Regions from separate parts of the Homo sapiens genome. Here region 1 is linked to region 2. The links are contacts of gene promoters, found by promoter capture Hi-C in human tissues and cell types (Jung and others, 2019). All regions are on one chromosome and are shown on one strand. Each heading gives the region's core, a stretch centred on a gene start or on the middle of the fragment in contact. The rest is flanking DNA. Distances are from core to core; before and after follow the strand shown. Region 1 holds the start of COL5A3 (collagen type V alpha 3 chain). Region 2 holds the start of S1PR2 (sphingosine-1-phosphate receptor 2).

The links. The method cuts DNA at HindIII sites, captures the fragments that hold promoters and counts their contacts. A contact is called where the count stands out against the background at its distance.
Region 1: the fragment with the promoter of COL5A3 here is called in contact with the fragment with the promoter of S1PR2 in region 2 in 1 of the 25 tissues and cell types used here (dorsolateral prefrontal cortex).

Annotation. Positions count from the first base shown.
Region 1 is chr19:10,009,080-10,011,965 of GRCh38, reverse strand. COL5A3 (collagen type V alpha 3 chain) reads left to right here and starts at 1,462. Exons shown (of 67, transcript NM_015719.4): 1 at 1,462-1,668. The coding sequence starts at 1,581. The HindIII fragment of the contact is 11,359 bases long and covers 1-2,886 here.
Region 2 is chr19:10,229,764-10,232,617 of GRCh38, reverse strand. It overlaps S1PR2 (sphingosine-1-phosphate receptor 2), which reads left to right and starts at 1,287. Exons shown (of 2, transcript NM_004230.4): 1 at 1,287-1,414. MIR4322 (microRNA 4322) reads right to left here and starts at 2,205; the gene lies at 2,133-2,205. RefSeq lists enhancers at 733-782, 1,929-2,643, 2,583-2,662, 2,743-2,792 and silencers at 983-1,642, 2,353-2,402. The HindIII fragment of the contact is 35,191 bases long and covers 1-2,854 here.

The sequences.
Region 1 (2,886 bases), core at 213-2,712, 220 kb after region 2:
CCCCAGTGGCTGTGCGTTGCTTTGCGACAGGGACAGATTCCCACCACCTCCCACCAACGCGCCGGCCTTTTTTTTTGAGACAGACAGAGTCTTGCTCTGTTGTCCAGGCTGGATCGCAGTGGCACAACCTCAGCTCACTGCAACCTCCACCTCCCGTGTTCAAGTGATCCTCCCACCTCAGCCTCCCAAGTAGCTGGGACTACAGGCGCCAGTCACAATGCCTGGCTAATTTTTGTATTTTTAGTAGAGATGGGGTTTCGCCATGTTGGCCAGCTGATCTCTAACTCCTGGACTCAAGCGATCTGCCCGCCCCAGCCTCTCAAAATGCTGGGATTACAGGCATGAGCCACCGCACCCAGCTCAGACTCCCTCATTTGGTGGGGATTTGGGATTGAGGCCGGGGCATCCACTGGAGACCTGAGTTGGGGCGGGGGGAGATGAGGGTTAGGGATGGAGATGAGACCCTTTATTTGAGGAATCAAGAATTTGGGGAAAGTGAAAACTGTGTTTTGGGATCTGTGGTGAGAATTTGGGACCAGGACACGTGACTTAGGGATTTGAGTGGACAGATGAAGGTTTGGAGTAAGGCTGGGGACCCCATTTTGGGATCTGGGGTGAGATTTGAGGTGGGATGAGGACCCGTTAGGGACTTGAAGGAAAGGCTTTGGGGCTGAGGCTGGTACCTCCTATTGTGCAGCTGAGGGACTGAGGATAAAGCAGGTAGGTGAGTGAGAGTTCGGGGTGAGGTTGGGACCCCAGTTGGGGGCCTGAGTGAGGCAGAAAGGACTTGGTGCCAGGGGCGGTGGCTCATGCCTGTAACTCCAGCGCTTTGGGAGGGCAAGGCCGGAGGATCGCTTGAGACCAGAAGTTCAAGACCGGCCTGGGCAGCATAGCAAGATCCCGGTCTCTACAAAATATACATATTTTAAAATTAGCTGGGTGTGGCAGTGTGTGCCTGTGGTACCTGCTTCTCAGGAGGCTGAGGCAGGTGGATGGCTTGAACGCAGGAGTTGGAGGCTGCAGTGAGCTATGATTGCACCACTGCACTCCAGCTTGGGTGACAGATCAAGACCCTGTCTCCAAAATAAAATGTAAAAATAATAGAAAATAAAAAAGATTTGGTATAAAGCTGCACCTCCTCCTAATTCTAGGGCCTGGATGGAGGCTGAAGTCTTGAATGAGGTTAAGGTCTCCTTTGAGGGGATCTGCTAGGCGGAAAAGGTTTGGGGTAAGACTGGAACCCTCGAACTCTAGGGCTGGGTGGGAGTGACCCTTCTCCTCCACAGTGGGGTGGGGCAGGAACAACCCAGCTCCTGGCGCTGGGCTCCACCCCAGCCAGCCAATCAGCCCTCAGCACAAAGTTTCCCAACTTCCCAGTCCAGCTGTCAGCGCTCCCCCTCCAAAAAGCCCCGCCTGGCCAGGCGCTGGAGCGCAGGGCGAGGCCAGGGCGGGGTCTCGGGCAGTTTCCCGCGGACCCTGAGAGGAGCGGCCGCCGCGAGTGACTGCACCGAGCCCGAGAAGTCGCCGCGCCCCGCAGCCGCCCCGACTGGTTCCCCGCCTTGCCCGTGGGCCCCGCCGGGATGGGGAACCGCCGGGACCTGGGCCAGCCGCGGGCCGGTCTCTGCCTGCTCCTGGCCGCGCTGCAGCTTCTGCCGGGGACGCAGGCCGGTGAGCCGGGAGGGAAGAGATGGGACCCAGGGTCCACGACTCAGAGAGGCTCTAAAAGAGCGAGGGGTGGAGGGGGGTGGAGGGGCGTGGAGGGGAAGGGCGTGGGCGCCGCGTGCGGCCCCGGTGTGATGTGGGCGCATGAGTATCTGACTCTGGGTGATTTGTGGGTGTGACAGCTCGGGGTGGGGGTGGGGATGTGTGAGTGCGTTTTCTGGCGAGCGCGTGGGAATGCATGCAATGTGCAGGTGTGTGCATGTGTGTATGTGTGTGTAGCATGTGTGTGCATTTGGAGTGAAGTTGCGTATGTGCTTGCGTGTGGAGGTTGATGGTGATAGTGTGACTGTGAGTGACAGGGCAGTGCTGGGACGGTGTGTATTGCGACAGGTGAGTATGCACTTGTGCTCTTGTCTATGTGCTGATTTTCGAGGGTAACCGTGTGAGTGGTTATGCGTGTGATTGTGTGTCTCTGAGTGCCGCTATGAGGGGTGTAGTTATGATTTTTGGGTGCAAATAATTGCCCATGAGGATGAAGGTGGGTGGGGACAAGTATTGGGGGGTGCTCTTCGGGAACCCACAGTTTCCTTTGCGTCTCTTTAAATGGCTTCACCTCATTCTCCCTTTTCCTCCTCTGCCCCAAATTGGCGAGCGCCCATCTCCTCCCCTCCCTCCCTGTTGCCCCCTCCCCCACCCCGCGGTCCCCAGAGCCGCGATCAGCACCATGGACAGGGCTTCGGGGAGGGCCGCGGTGAGGGGCGAGACGGGGCGGGGCGCAGGGCGGGGCAGGAGTGGAAGTTGCTCCCCCCCTCCCCACCCCAGCTGCTGGAGCCTTGGGTGTTTTTCCCGAGGAATTTCTCAGGAGCCCCCAAGGGGTCCCGGGGGCCGCCGGATGGGTGAGTCAGCGCTGACGCACGCCCAGCTGCGCGCATCTGGCTGGGCGCCCTGTCCCGCCCCTCAGGGTTCAGAGTGGGGGGCGCTTCGGGAGTCAGGGGATGGCGTAGCTTCTCAAGTGTTGGAGATGGGGCTTCCCTGATCTGAGAGACCCTAGACTAGGTCCTCCTGGAAATCCCTTTCTAAGGTGAGCTCAGTCTCCCAACACACACACACACACACACACACACACACACACACACACACACCACAGCACACTTCTTACTTTGGAGTCCAGGAAGGTGCCTGTCCATATGGTTAATCCCTGATTGGACTATGCCGCATTCCCAC
Region 2 (2,854 bases), core at 38-2,537:
ACAAAAAAATCAGCCAGGCGTGGTGGCACGCGCCTGTATTTCCAGCTACTTGTGAAGCTGAGGCACAGGAATAGCTTGAACCTGGGAGGCAGAGGTTGCAGTGAGCTGAGATGGCACCACTGCACCCCAGCCTGGGAGATAAAGGAAGACTCTGTCTCAAACAAAAAAATTTTGTTGCTGGAATGAGGGGCTTTCCTATCCTGTTGTCGAACTGCTGGTTACACACACACACACACACACACACACACACACACACACACACATCATTCGATGAAGGTGTAGTGTCCATCATTTCCGCAGGCAGGCACACAGAAATGCCCAGGAATTAGTGAAAATTGGAAATCTGGATAGAAGACTGGGCCCGACGCTGGAAGGCAGGCACAAACTGGGCCCCGCCAGAGGGGACAGTGATCTACAGAGGCAGGAAAGAGTGTGGAGTGTCCCCAGTCCCCCAAGGGAAACAGGGCAGCACCTGAATTCTGGAGGTCCTATCAAGGGAGAGACTGGTCAGGCACAGTGGCTCACGCCTGTCATTCCAGCACTTTGGGAGGCTGAGGCAGTAGGATTGCTTGAATGCAGCAGTTCAAGACCAGCCTGGGCAACACAGCGAGACCCCATCTCTACAAAAAACTGCAAAAAATTAGCCAGGCATGATGGCGCACCTGTAGTCCCAGCTACTCTGGAGGCTGAGGCAGGAGGCTGAGGCTCCCGTGAGCTATGATTGAGCCACCACACTCTGGCCTGGATGACAGAGCAAGACCATGTCTCAAAAAAAGAAAAAAAAAAAGAGATCAATTTTGTCTTTGGGACAGGACATCGCACTTAGTAGGAATTTATTTGTTGGGTGGACACACAGTAGGCACTTAATGCCTATTTGCTGCGTTGACACCTAGTAGGTACTTCCAAGGCTCTTTGTTGAGTCAATAAATGTGACCTCGTGTTTTCTTCCAAGTCCAGGGTCCCAGGGGTAAGCCCAGAGGTAACCTGGGGTTGAAGACAGTTGTTTCAGGTTGAGGCCACCTGGCCAGGAGTACTGTGACGTCACCAGGCTGCGTGACGTTTCGCGCCGGCCGGTTCTCACGGGTGGGGGCTGGGAGGGGCAGAGTGAGAGATCGGGTGGGGGGGGCGGACAAAGGGCCCTCCGTGCAGCTCCTGTCGGCCCCCGCGTGCGCCCCGGCCAGCCGGCCGGTCACATCTGGAATTCATTGCAGCCGCCGCCGGAAAGGGGAGGAGAGGAGGGCGGGGCGAGCGGGGGGCAGAGGCGGCGGCTCTCCGCCCCCCCCTCTGTCCCTCGTCCCAGCCCCGGGACTTAGCCGAGCCCGGCTGGCAACCCCAGCCCCAGCCGCGGCCGCCCTGGGGACGCAGACGCCAAGGCCCCTCCGGCCAGGGCCGGGAGCCGGGCCGGCCTAGCCAGGTGAGCGCGCGTGGCGACAAGGAGGCAGAAAAGGCGGGCCTGGTCCCCTGAGGTCTCGGGATCCGAGCTGAGGGGCCCCAATCGGGGGGCTGGGGCGCGCACGCGCCGCCTGGGTTCCTGCTGCACGGAGCGGGTGGTCACAGTGCGCCCTCTCCAAGAATCCGGGCGGCCCCCACTGCCTCGGCCGCGAACCCGCAGACTGTGCTCCCCGCCTTTCTCAGCGGCAGGAAGTTGGCGCCGGGGAGAAGGCTGAATCCGAGCGCTTTCGACTGGAGTCTTTGGGAGGCAGGACGCCGTGCTCGGGGACCGGGGTCTTGGGGAGTGTGTTTGGGGGGGGGCAACACCCCTCCTGGCTGACTCCGGCTGAGCGAGGGCAAAAGGATGTGCGCGCCGTGGAGCCTCCAAGCCAAGGGGCGGCACCCACGGGGAGGGCGGTCGGACGTCGGGCTTTCTGCCTCGGTTTCCCCAAGTTGTTTGCCTCCTCCGGTCCCCCGGCGGGGGGCGTGGCTTTGTTTTGTAAGGAAAGAGAAAGTGACTGCGTGGCTCAGACGCCTCCTCTTTCAACTCCGGCTCAGGGATGGGTCGTGGGTGAAGGCGCGCGTGGCGCGGACCTCGCGTGGCCCCGAGCCGGGCGGAGCGTCGGAACTCGCCCCCTTCTCAGGCACGGGTTGACTCACCCGGGGATTTCCACCCCCTCCTCTGTCTCTGTCCTTGTCAGATGCTCCGGGCCCCACGCGCTGAGCCCACAGTCCCCCTCGTGGGGCGACACGGCCAGGCGCGGAACTCGCGGTGCAGCTGCTGCTGCGATCTGGTCCCCCACCCCCAGTCTTCCCAGAATCTCGAGGCGGGACCCCTGGCGGGACGGAGAGGAATCCTTCCAGTGCCGCTTGGAGACGTGGGGGCCCCGCGCGTGTGGCGGTCTCGGGGGCGGGGGGGAGAGGAGGCGTGGCTCCCGCGCGAGCGAGCGTGGATACCGCGCATTCCTAAACCAGATAAGGAGGCCGAGAGTGCGGGCCAGCACGGGGTCGGGTCCTGCTGCCATCTCCATGGAGACACGCTGGGCTTTGCCTGGTTGATGGTGGGCGATGGGGGCGCTGCCCGCGGACCAGAGGTGTCTCCAGGCTCCTTTGTTGCTGTTTGGGTCTGGGCTGAGCTTAGGAGTTTCCACCCTTGGGAACCCACTAGGGTCTCCTTTGTTCATTGGTTCATTCATTCATTCATTCATTTGCCCATTCCACACGTTTTCTGAGTGTTTTATTTGTGCCAGGCATCCCTGTAGGGGCTGATAACTGACTTGCTCCCTGGCCTTAGGCATTGACTGTCTAGGTGGAAGCCAGACAGAAAAGGAAAGATATCATGATAGTTTCCCATAGTGGCAAGCGCTGTGCAGATAATAAAACGAGATTCTGTGATTAGAAAAGGCTTGGAGATGGCTGCTAT